3 separate regions of the Homo sapiens genome follow, and regions 2 and 3 are each linked to region 1. Evidence: promoter capture Hi-C in 16 types of primary human blood cells and fetal thymus (Javierre and others, 2016). All regions are on one chromosome and are shown on one strand. Each heading gives the region's core, a stretch centred on a gene start or on the middle of the fragment in contact. The rest is flanking DNA. Distances are from core to core; before and after follow the strand shown. Region 1 holds the start of FANCB (FA complementation group B). Region 2 overlaps GLRA2 (glycine receptor alpha 2). Region 3 overlaps GLRA2 (glycine receptor alpha 2).

Region 1 (4,197 bases), core at 871-3,370:
AATAACATCAGGGATTTTGAGCAAATCTCTTAATCTCTCTAGACCTCACTTTCTTCATTTTAAAAATGAGGAGGTTGCCCCAAGATGACCTTTAAGATCTTGTTTATTGCCTAATTTCTGCCTGTATTCTGCTTCCTCCCTTGGGCATAAATAAATGACTATTGGGGTGTTACTAGCTCATTAGGTCGAATTCTGAGTTACTTCTTAAAATATTATAAACCATGTATTAACAGCTATAATAGTTACATTTCTGTAGAAAGCAATTGAAGAAGGATCTCTTTATTGGAACCAGCTATATTATTAGAAATGGGAACTCTGGGTGAAAAGTGAATCAAGTGCTTTTGCAACTCTCTGGAACAAAGTTTGGGGTGTGAAGAAAATTGGCAAGGAGGTATGAAAAGATTTACTGACAAGTATTTGAAACCGATTTCCATATTTGTTCTATGTCATCAACTGATGTATAATCTAGGATGGTTTAAAGTTGCAGGGAACCTCTGCTGAGTACTAGTCAAGATGTAGAAGCTTAACTCCTTTCACAGTAACCAAAATGACAACTGAGGCAAAATATTCACTGAGAATCCACTATATTTTAAGACATGCTAGATGGTTTATGTTTTTTTAAAAAATTTAATCCTACTAACTTTATTATTTGCACTTCACAGATATGAAAACGGGCTCAGAATAGACAAGTAAGCTATGTAGTGGCAGGGTTAGGATTACAATCAATCTTAAGGTAGGCAACATATAAATCCTTATTTAATTCCATATTTACAATAAGTTATTCCGTATGTTTTACAAAATTACTGTACAAGCATTAAATATTCAGTTAAGTACCTGACAACTCAAGTATCTGTGACATCTGGACACAGAATGTTCAACCAATAAATCAATTCTGGACTCATAGGTACTTTGCAAGATACAGTTTGGGATAAGAACTTGTTCCAGCATTGGAGGGCCTATTTTGTGGGTAGCATGCTGGGTTGTATGAAAGCCAAATCAAACAAAATATCCAAGGAATTTGTATACCCAATTAAGTACACATCAATAGTATTATGGCAGTTTCCAGGTACATTTTCGCTAGTGTTGCTGGTGAAAGGCCAGCAGTGGAACCGTGGACTGGACAATGTCACCCGTGTTGTGGGCCTAACAAGTATCCTGCAAGTTCCATAAACACGAGGGCATGCTAAAAACTTAACCGATTTCCAACTTACATTAACCCTTTAAAGGGAGCATGGGACACACCACTTGACCATTTGAAGCAGTGCACACGGCTTGTCATGGAGAGGAAAACCTTTGAGACGTGCCCAGCATCATTCCTGTGAGGGTCGAAAGGGTCCCTAACACCTCCCACAAATACACTCACAAACACTCCAGCAAAGTTGGGGATGCTCACTGCACACCTTTCTTAATACCTGGAACAGAGTACCCACCTGTCACATACTCAGCTTCGAACCTCCTCCGGGTCTCAGAGATGAGCTTGGCTTTATTCTGGGCGTGATTCTGGATGGGAGACACGATGGGACCTTAGATACTACTTGCATCAACCCGCTTACCCTCAACCCAGCCCACCTGCACACGGGCGCTCGGTCCCCGGGCCTCAGAGGCGGCTTCCGGGTCCGGGGGGCCAGCGGCGGTGCAATAGGCTCCTCACCTCTGCCATGATCACCGTCGTGGATGTGATTGCGGTTGTCGCCGTCGCCCGTTCTACCGTCGCCGACCGAGTATCTCATCACCCGGCAGTCCCGCCCAGAGGTAGACAGAGAAGGGTGGGAGGGGGAGGCGGTCGCGTGACACCGGAAGGCGGACAGAAGCGCCGCCGCACCGCCCAATCCAATGCGGACGCCTGGGTCTGGAGGCGGGACCAGGCCCTCAGCCTAGGTCCCATTCGATTCTCGTCTGGCCTCGCCCCGCGACATCCCCCGCACTGCGGTCCCGCCCCCGCCAGCCGCGAGATCGCCGGCGCTTCCCCCGCGGAGCTCCGCCCTAGAGAGCTCGCGGGCTCTCTGCTTTCACAACACTCCCCAGGGCCCCGCCTCCTCAGCCTCCCTTGGCCACCTCTCCTGGCTGGCTTCTAGGCTCCGCCTCCTCTGCGTTCGACGCAGCCTCCGCCCGGCCTCCCAGGATGCAGCGCGCTGGCGGGAGGTTTGGAGCAGATGGATACCGTATCGACGTGGGGCCTCCGGTATGTTGCCGCTGCGTTGAGGTAGGATGGGGCTGGCGAGTCTTCCCTTCCCAGGACTTCGCAGAGGGGGCGATGGGGCTGGATTTCCTCCCCTTGTCCCCGCATTGCGGGAGAGAGGGAAGGAAGCGGGCATCCCGAGACCTGGGTCTGTCATTCCTTGCAATGATAATTGGATTTTAAGTGCTACATTCGCTTGAAGTTTTTTTCATCCCTTCAGTATCCTTCCAACTTGGAGTGTGAGATGCTTAATGAGCAAAATATCTCTGAAATCTTTAATCTCAAATAATTATATAAAGTTAAAAAAAGCGTGTTTCGGCTTATTAAGGTAGTTGTGTTCAGCCGGGGGGGTGGGGGGGTGTGTGTGGGGGGGGCGGTTTTACCACCCAGGGGACCTTTGGCAACCTCTGGAGACATTTTTAGTCACCACTGCTAGGGGCCGGGGGCAAAAGAGATGCTCACTGGCTACTAGTGGATAGAGACCAGGGAAGCTGCCAAACATCCTCCAGTGTACATGAAAATTCACAACAGTTATCCAGCCCAAAATGTCAATAGTGTCAAGGTTGAGAAAGATTTAGATTTAAAGGGACTGGAACAAATTTTATTCGTCAGTTAAAAACAATTGAAAGAAAATAGTTGCGCATACAATATTGCCTTTTTTAAAGTTGAAAGATACTGAAAACTACAAACAAGTTGTAAGAATAGTCCCCCATATTTCCATCAACCGTAGTCATCCATGACAGAATGGCATGTTAGCATCTTTTGTCCTAGACTTTTAAATATATTTACATTTTTTATGGGAAAAAATGAACACATTGTTTAAACGTTGTTTGACTACATCCTTAAAAGATATTTCAGATATAACTAAAGTCTCCTTCTACCTCTACTCACCTATCCTGGACACTTCCTTGTCCAGAATCAACAGCATTCAGAATTTGGCATGAAATGTTTACAGTTTTACATTTTTTTATTTTGGATCATACTGCCTGGGTTTGAATCCTGGCTCTGTCACTTCTTATCTGCAAGCCTTTGAGAAGATCCTGAAACTCCTTGCCTCAGTTTCTCCATCTATAAAATGGGATAGTAACAGTGCCTATGTCATAAGGATGTTGTGAGGAAGAAACGAGTTAATCCAAAGTGCTTAGAGCAGTACCTGGCACTGTTTCTTCAGGAAAAAAAAAAAAAATAGTACATGGCACTATTTCTTGAGAAAGCACTCAGGGACTGTAGTCATTGTAGGTAAATAGAACATATATAATGCTGTTTTATTTGTTTTACATAAATAATATGCTGCAGTGTACATTTGTCTGCAACTTAATTTTTAATTCATTTTATTTTTGAAATTTAACCATGATTATATATATATATACACACACACACACACACATATATAGATAGATAGATCTAATTCATTCCTTTTAACTCTTGTTTGATAGTCCATCTATACTCATTCCCCTATTGGTGTTCATTGAGGTTTTTACTTTTTTTATATTGCAAATATCAGCACAGTGAGCTTCTAGAGCAATGTATTCATTCATATGTGGGATTATGTCTCTGGGTTTATATCTACAAATGAAACTACTGGGTATATGCATTTCAGTTGACTGCCAAATTACCTTCAGAGTCATCTCTCCCTTTTATTTAAGTACTCATAATTTTCTTCTAATTGTTAGCTCTTTTTCCAGTCTGATCTCACTCACACCTTTAACACTGTCACCAGGATCTTCATAACTCAAAAGTACAGTCCTGTGATTTCTGTTTTTGAAGTCTTTCAGTGGGTTATCATTACTTATATGAGAAATTTATAAGTCCTTAATATGACATAAAAATCTTCTTTAGCGTAATCTTCCCAAATCCTCTAATTTAGTTGATCACGATTCTCCCGCATTTACTCACATTTCAGGCATATTAGATAATGTTGAAAAAGGTGAGATCAATTCTGTATAGGACCCAATAAATAACTTATGTAGGGAGAAAAAAACTTTTAACAGTGGCCCTATTTTGTAGGAAAGTTAATT
Region 2 (4,197 bases), core at 811-3,310, 170 kb after region 1:
CCTTGAACCCCCGTGACAACCCTCCAGAAGCAATGCAGTCCTGCCAATACCTTGATTTTAACCTAGTGAGGCCCATTTTGGACCTACAGAAGTGTAGATAATAAGTTTTTCCTGTTTTAAGCCATTAAGTTTGTAGTGATTTGTTACAGCAATGATAAGACACCTGTGTTACTGCAAAGAATTCAAACCAGAAAGCCACTTTTATATTCACACTTAAGACAAGCTTTGGTAAGTTTATAATATACATCCCAGATTTGGAAAGCTAGTTCTAGCAAAATTACAAAAAGGCAAACCAAAATAGTAATAATGATCTATGCCTCTAGGGAGGGGCTTCAGGGAAGTGTAGACTACTTATAAAATTAAGGGTGTTTTTAAGTTGAAATGCTGAAGCAGCATTTTCCTGATCTTGTGCCTTATTCCAATCTGATCCTTTCTATATAGAGTGATGTTTCCACAGTTCCAATCTGATTGTAGCATTCTATCATTTATAAAGCCTTTTGGTGGCTCCCAGTTCAAGAGCAACTGAAGTCTTCCTTCCTTTTAGGCCCCATGCTTTAGCACTTTCCTGACTCAACTTTTTATGATGTAGTGAAAGCATCATGTCGTTTCTAACATCTGAACCTCTGCATAACCGTTTCCTCAGCCTGGATATCCTCTTAATTTTCCTTTTGACCTGGCAAATTTCTACTCCTGTGTCAAGACCCAGACAAAGGCTCAACTCCCTGGCACTACCAAGTGGAGAAGATGCTTTGTCCTCAGTCATCACTTTAAATCATGCACTTAAACCTTTCCCACAGCACACAACATTCTGCACTGAAATATTTGTCTGAGCCTGTCTACCCCAGTAAACAAAACAACACAAAAAGGACACTAGTTGATACAAGTTTTCTTTCTCATTTAAACATTGAACTCCCTTCAAAAAATCTGTAAAGCAAAACTCCCTTAAGAAGGTCTGTGCAAAACTAGAACTTCAACTAAATTTGGTAACTATAGAAATATAAAGAATCATTGAAATTAAAAGCTAGAGTTAACTGTTTTATTGCAAATAAAGAATAAATAAGTGGGCTAACTGCCACATTTTATTGCTTACATTTATTTCACTTATGTGTAAAATATTCTCCTTTCATTCTCATCTCTTCTTTACAGTATCCCCCTTTCTCTACCCTGCTTGGACCATCACGTGATTCATATTTTTATCCATTCATCCATCCTGTCTGGCAAAACCCTCAGCTTGGATCCAAGATTGGCTTCACGGGCATGCAACCTGTGCAGACACACAGGGTCCATACACAGAGGGGTGCTAGGCTTAGTTTAATGCTCTGCTGTTGCCATCTTGAAATTCTTAATTGTTTTTGAACCAGGGGTTGCCCATTTTTATTTCAGTCAGTCCTGCCTGGATCAATTGTGGAACCCACCATCTGGTTATTCTAGGCTGCTGAGCTCCTCTGGAGAACCTCACCGAATCCAGCACATTGATGCCCCTACATATCCAATTTCCCCTACGTCCGATGGACCCTAAGCCTGCTTGAGAAAACTTCTGTGGGTTCCTGGTGATGTATTTCGCAATTCACAAACATTTCAAAGTTTTCCCACTGTTCTCACACCTCCTACTCTGTCACCTCCCTCTTTATTCTCTGAAAATGAATGTGTTTCCTGTGTCACAGAAAACAATCAGATGCCATCATGTGGGGATTCCTTCAAAATCCTGTCCGCCTACCCACCCACCCACAAACTTGCCATGTCCTTATTCTTATTCCTTCTTTTGTCTCCCAGTTATCAGAAGGAATACCTTCTACTGGGTATGGCTAGTGGCTCCACCTAAGTATGCTCTCCCACCTTTCCTCAAAACTCCTGTAAGTAATATTATTCTCTCTATAAACAACTCTCTCATCAGCATTTAAATGTACTCAAGTTGCTCATTAAAAAAAACACTAAATAAAAAGCAAAAGAACCAACCAACCAACAAAAAAATCCATGGCCTATATGCCTCCTCAGCCACTTCTGCCTCTTTTTCTTGGATAAAATGGCTGCATTCAATGTCCTCACTTCCTCACTGTCCACTTCACTACTACACTGCCTAAAATCTTGTGTCTGCCTCCGTCTCTCCACTGAGCCTGCTGTTGTTGAGGTTACCAATGTCCTCTGACTTCCTAAAATCCATGGCTGCTTCTTAGCTTTTATTTTATGTGAACTCCACATCTTTAGATACTATGAATTTTCTTCCTGAATATGTTTCTTTTTCTAGCCTCTGAGTGATTACATAGCCGTCTGACCTTCTCTGTCTCTCTCATGGGCTCCTTTCCCCCTGCCTGTCTCTGATATGCTGGTGCTCACAGGAGTTTGCCCTCAGCCCTCTGCCTTGCCTTACACTGCCTTCCCTTACACTGCCTTCCCCTTCCATTCCCTCTTCCTGCTCCGTCCCTGCCCCTTCCTGCTCTTTCTCAACCTTTCTCCTCCACTTCTCTTCTCACTCTGTACACTCCTGCTGGGTAATCTTATCCACTTCCATAGCTTTAACCTCCATCTATATCCTAATGACTTCTCAGCATGTCTGTCCAACCCAGTCCTCTCTCCTGAGTGCTGGACTGCCTCATGGACATCGCTACCTCCATCTCTCACATTTCACCTATCCCACACTGAGGGTCATGTCTGTAACTGGGGGTCTGTTGTACAGATTATTGTACAGATTATTTCATCACCCCAGGTCTTAAGCCTAGTACCCATTAGTTTTACCTGATCCTCTCTGTCCTTCCACCCTCCACCCTCCAAAAGACCCCAGTGTGTGTTGTTCCCCTCTATGTGTCCCTGCGTTCTCATCATTAGCTCCCACTTAGAAGTGAGAATGAGTGGTATTTGGTTTTCTGTTCTTACATTAGTTTGCTGAGGATAATGCCCTGCAGCTCCATCCATGTCCCTGCAAAGGACGTGATCTCACTCATATGTGGAATCTAAAAAATTTGATCTCATGGGGGTAGACAGTATAATAGTGGTTATCAGTGCCTAGAGAAAATGAGGGGGAGGGAGAGATGAGGAGAAGTTAGTCAGTGGGTACTATGTTACAGTTAGATAGGAGGAATAAGTTCTGGTCTTCTATTGCACAGTTGGGTGAAAATCGTTAATGATAATGTATTGTATATTTCAAAATATCTAGAAGAGATGATTTGGTGAAGAAATAAGTGTTTCATATGATTGATACAGTAATTATCCTGATTTGATCATAATACAATGTATAAAACCTTAAAACCTCACATTGTACCCCATAAATATATACAACTATTATGTGTCAATTAAAAACAAAATAGAAGAAAAATAAGTAAAAGGCAACTTGTCATTAGGTGGCCCACATGCCATAACCATGTTCTCAAGCAGCCACAATTTCTATTTAGTAGCTGAACAAAAAGAAGTCAGGGCTATCTGGGTAACTGGAAACATTTGAAATTAGGTACAATGCCAGAAGTAAGGCATGGTGCAGCCAGATATAAAATGAAAGTGGGAGATAAATGCAGGTGAGGCTGCATTGTAGAGAAGTTGTTATAACTTCACATGGTGCACATATTTCTTATTGGAGCAGAGGCGATAACATTAAAACAGAGTTTTATTGCATAGACCTGGGGCATCAGCTTCTAATAGACTGGGGTTGGCCAGTTCTGTCAGGGAAGATCTGGGCGTGATTGTTTCTGAGAAACTCTGTTTTGATAAAATTGACAGTGGCTGCTTTACAAAACCTAGAAAAGATAATCAAAGCAAATACACCTAGTTGCACATTGCCCGGCCACTCCTTGAAAGTGACCCCATTTGATAACTTGATTGCTCAGTAAATACCAGACACTCTTCCCATGCATGTAAATGTAATCTCAGGTGTTCTCTCAATAAATACCTTCCCTGAATAAAGCTTAATGCCATTGTCTTTTTGGGAGATGATCTGCTCTTGTTTTTTGTTATACCTTCTAAAATATCAACCTGTATGTTATTTCAGAGGTCAGTTTCTCAGTAGGAAATTAAAGAGATGACATATTGCCTTGGGAATATTTACTTTTTTTTTTTTTTTTTTTTTTTTTTTTGAGATAGATAGAGTCTCACTCTGTCGCCCAGGCTGGAGTACAGTGGCGTGATCTCAGCTCACTGCAATCTCCACCTCCCGGGTTCAAGTGATTCTCCTGCCTCAGCCTCATGAGTTCCTGGGACCACAGGTGCATG
Region 3 (4,197 bases), core at 1,141-3,640, 150 kb after region 1:
CTGCCTCCTGGGTTCAAGTGATTCTCCTGCTTCAGCCTCCCGAGTAGCTGGGATTACAGGTGCCCACCACCATGTCCAGCTAATTTTTGTATTTTTAGTAGAGACGGGGTTTTACCATTTTGGCCAGGCTGGTCTCAAACTCCTGACTTCCGGTGATGCACCCGCTTCGGCCTCCCAAAGTGCTGGGATTACAGGTGTGAGCCACCATGCCTGGCTTATTTCTCACATTTTTAACAAATATTTATTGAGTACCTATTATGTGCCAGGTACGTGGTAGAGTTACAGCAATGAACAAGAATACAAAAGTCTCTGATTTTTTGGAATTTACATTCTAGAGGGGGAAACAGTAACAAGTAAACAAATTATACACACACACAAACATATTTATACATATACACACATATACATATACGAATGCATATACACACAAGACACACACAGATAATGATGGGTGCTTTGGAAAAAAATAAACAGTTAAGGTAAGAGACTTAGGCAAGTGGCATAGAAGGGAGTGTTTTAGATTGAGTGGTTGGAAAAGGCTTGCAGAGATGCCAGGCACTGTGCTATGTGCCGGGGATCCAGTGGAGAGCAAAATAGATTTGATTCTTGCCTTCAAGGAGTTTGCAACCTTGAGATGAAGGGAAACAATAAAGTAATCACATGAATACATAATTACTAACTATGATAAGGGCTCTGAAGGAAAATTATAAGATGCTATGAGAGCTTACTAAATGGGGTCCTGGTCTAATCTGACAGATAAGAGAAGCTTTTCCCCTAGGAAGTGATATTTCATTAGAGATTTAAAAAATGAGAGGCATTAAAGAGGTGAAGGCAGGGTTTGGCAATGTCTGAGATAGGAGGGTTTGCTGCAATTGAGGGATGCAACTGAGGCCTGGAATACAGGGGGAGTGTGGAGTGAGACAATGTTTCAGAAATGAACCAGGGGCTACATCATATAGGGCCCTGTAAACCAGTGTCTGATGAAGCTTTATTTTGAGAACCAAGGGGAGCCATAACTGGCTTTTAATGGAGATTGCATGACATAACCAGATCAGCATATTGAAATAAATCACTTTGGTTGCCATGTGGATGACTGCCTAGAGGAACGCAAAAGTGAATCCAAGAAGTTACAAAGCTACAGCAATGGTCCAGATGAGAGATGATAATGATTTGGATTTAATGGGTGGTGGTATAGGTAGAGAGCAATGTGCCAACTAGAGACATAGAGGGGCAATCAACAGGTCTTAGAGATGGATTGGAAATTGTCAAGGTTAACCTCCAGCTTAAACCACTAGATGGATATTAATGCCATTCAATGAGAAAGAAGACACCAAAAGAGGATCACATTAAGTTTGGGGAAAATAATACGATTGAGGTGCACTTGAGACATTCGAATAGATACATGGGGTAGGTGATTGATTGCAATGGACAGTCTGTAACTCAGAGAGATCTCAGCTGGAGGCATACACTTGGTTATATTTTAATGCATGACTGGCAGTCTTTCTTTTCAACCCCAAACTGTTTGCAAGACAAAAAATACTGAAGGTGACTTATGCTAAAATCAGCCATTAGCCAATACAGTTAAAATTATTCTTTTAAATACTTTTCAAGTTTTACCCAGATAAGGCAATACTTGTAAATAATTTTGGATTCAGAATAAATCTTTGCTCTGATGCTGAGGATAAAATGAAATTATAAGTATCATTCTGCATGTCAGCTAAGTATTCCAAAGGAAGCTTTATGGAGTAGCCATGGTTTAGGTCAGCTGGTGGGATCCCCTACACTCATTCTGCAGGGCCCTCTCAAACTGGTCTGTGGATAGCATAGTGGCATGTTGGCAAGGCAAAGAGAAGAGAAGCAGTTCCCACTTCTTTCTCCTCTGCATGCTTCCATATGTCATATAGAAGTCACAGACTGTATTATATTGTGTTTGCCAAAGATAGCCACAACAATATCTCCCATCCCATATGCTTTTTTCTTAACAGTATTATCATTGACACTCTTTCCATTGAGACATGGGGTCTGTATCCCCTCCACTTGAGTCTAAGTGGGCTTGTGACTTGCTCCTAATCAACAGAATTTGGTGGAAGTGACACTAAGTAACTTCTAAGTCTAGGTCATAAAAAGTGATGAAGCTCCAATCCTGGTGTGCTTGGAACCATGAGCCACCATGTCAACTGTCTGACTGCCCTGAGACCACCATGCTATGAAGAACTCAAAGTAGCCCATGTGGAGAAATCACATGGAAAAGCCCTGTGAGTACATGAAGAAAGAATGATGCCTGCCCAACTCCCAGCTGTTCCAGCCCCAGTTACTGTCTGACTGCACCAAGAGGAGAGACCCCGAACCACAACTGCCTAGCTGAGATCTTCCCAAATTCTTAACACACAGAAAGTGTGAGAGATAATGAACTGCTTGTTATCGTTTTAAGCCACTAAGATGTTGGATGATTTATTATGCAGTAATAGATAGCTACACAGATAATTGATGCTGTATCAAAAACTGAAATGTTGTGGCATTATCTTTGGGACCAGGCAGCAGGCAGAAGCTGGAAGGCCCTCAAGGAGGTTGTTGGAAGACTGGGAGGAAAGAAAGGCAATTGCTGTGGAAAGCTGGAGGATGGGGAAAAGTTTACCAACATTGTTTCCTGTGGTAACATGGAAAATAGAAAATATACTTAATAAACCTCATCATCTACCTAAGGAGATTTCCAGATAGAGCACTGAGGATGCTGCTTGGCTTTTAGCTGCTGATACCAAACTGAGAGAGGACAAAGAACTGAAGAACAGGCCATTAAGTGTCCAAGTAGAAGTTGGAGGAAATGTAAAGGATCCAGAATAAGTCTTTTCAGCCTGCGAAGGGTCCTCAAATCAGAACAGGCCTCAGGGGAAAAAATCATATACAGGGTGGGACTGTACGATTCTTTGTTAAAACCTGAGAAATATCTAAAGCAGTACCTGATAAGCTCTTTCAGACAGGCAATAGGTCTTATAAGGATCATAAGAACATGCCTTACAGATTGTCTCCTCTAAACAATAAGCTTCTACGAATATTAAGGGTGTTGGGCCACACAGCATACTCACAGGGAGCCTAAGATAACAAGGGCTTATAATTGATAAATAATAATTGTATATATTTATGGAGTATAATGTAGTGTTTTGTTGTGGAATGATTAACTCAAGGTAATTAACATATCCATTACTTCACATACTAATCATTTTTTGTGGTGAGAACACTTAAAATCTATTCTTTTAGCAATTTTGAAATGTACATTATTATTAACTATAGTCACCATGCTATGCAATACATCTCTAAAACGTAATCCTCCTAACTAAAACAGGGTTTATCTTGAAAATATTTGTGAGTATAGCTTTTGTCTAATGAAGTGGATTATAAATTTATATATAAACCCCAACAGTATTTTTTTTTTTTTTTTTTTGAGACAGGGTCACACTCTGTCACCAAGGCTGGAAGTGCAGTGCCATGATCACAGCTCACTGCAGCCTCGACTACCCAGACTCAAGTGATCCTCCTGCCTTAGCCTCCCAAGGTGGACGGGTCATGTGCCACCATGTCTGGCTAATTTTTTTGTAGAGGTGGGGGTCTCACTATATTGTCCAGGCTGGTCCCAAACTCCTGGACTCAAGCAATCCTCCCATCTTGGTCTCCTAAAATGCTGGAATGACAGGCATGAGCCAACATGCCCAGCCCTGCCCCCAACAGTTTTTAAGGAATTGTATGTTTGGACTGAAAACAACAAAGATAGTATAAAATGAAAGGAGGTCTTTAGACTCCTAATCTTTTAAAGACAATAAATAGACTAAAAAGGTTACTCAGTGGCAAACAAGTGCCCCTTCTTATAGAAAAAGAAAGATGTTTCAAATAGCAGAATAAGAGTCCAGAGAGCAGACCCAAAAACTAGAGAGGACAACCAAGGAATATATCCCCCAAACAAGGATCTTCCAACATGGACCTTTCTAGGTCTCAGAATTCCTGTTAACTAGTGACTGCTGTGTGCCTCTTGTTCCCCCTATTTTTGAATGGAAGAGTCTATAACAGTTATCCTCTGTATGTCTCCATATTGTCTGTTGAGTAAGTGGAGCAGATACCTTGTCTCTTTAGTTCCCAGGTTTTCATTTTTAACTGTATCCAAAATGCTTAACCTGAGATGCTTCATTTGACTTACATGATGAGATC

Evidence for each region. Contacts are between HindIII fragments. The CHiCAGO score rates a contact against its expected background, and 5 or more counts as called.
Region 2: a contact is called between a fragment that was not itself captured here and the fragment with the promoter of FANCB in region 1, in 1 of 17 cell types (neutrophils). The highest score is 8.7, in neutrophils.
Region 3: a contact is called between a fragment that was not itself captured here and the fragment with the promoter of FANCB in region 1, in 1 of 17 cell types (neutrophils). The highest score is 5.2, in neutrophils.

The regions. Positions count from the first base shown.
Region 1 is chrX:14,870,992-14,875,188 of GRCh38, reverse strand. FANCB (FA complementation group B) reads left to right here and starts at 2,120. Exons shown (of 10, transcript NM_001018113.3): 1 at 2,120-2,203. MOSPD2 (motile sperm domain containing 2) reads right to left here and starts at 1,768. Exons shown (of 15, transcript NM_152581.4): 1 at 1,652-1,768; 2 at 1,431-1,500. The coding sequence starts at 1,660. RefSeq lists a silencer at 1,801-2,030. The HindIII fragment of the contact is 4,870 bases long and covers 525-4,197 here.
Region 2 is chrX:14,698,546-14,702,742 of GRCh38, reverse strand. All of the region lies in intron 8 of GLRA2 (glycine receptor alpha 2), which reads right to left. It also overlaps a transcript of FANCB not described here. Among named protein-coding and RNA genes, the nearest start is that of GLRA2, 170 kb to the right of the region's middle. The HindIII fragment of the contact is 3,669 bases long and covers 226-3,894 here.
Region 3 is chrX:14,720,363-14,724,559 of GRCh38, reverse strand. All of the region lies in intron 8 of GLRA2 (glycine receptor alpha 2), which reads right to left. It also overlaps a transcript of FANCB not described here. Among named protein-coding and RNA genes, the nearest start is that of FANCB, 150 kb to the left of the region's middle. The HindIII fragment of the contact is 1,304 bases long and covers 1,739-3,042 here.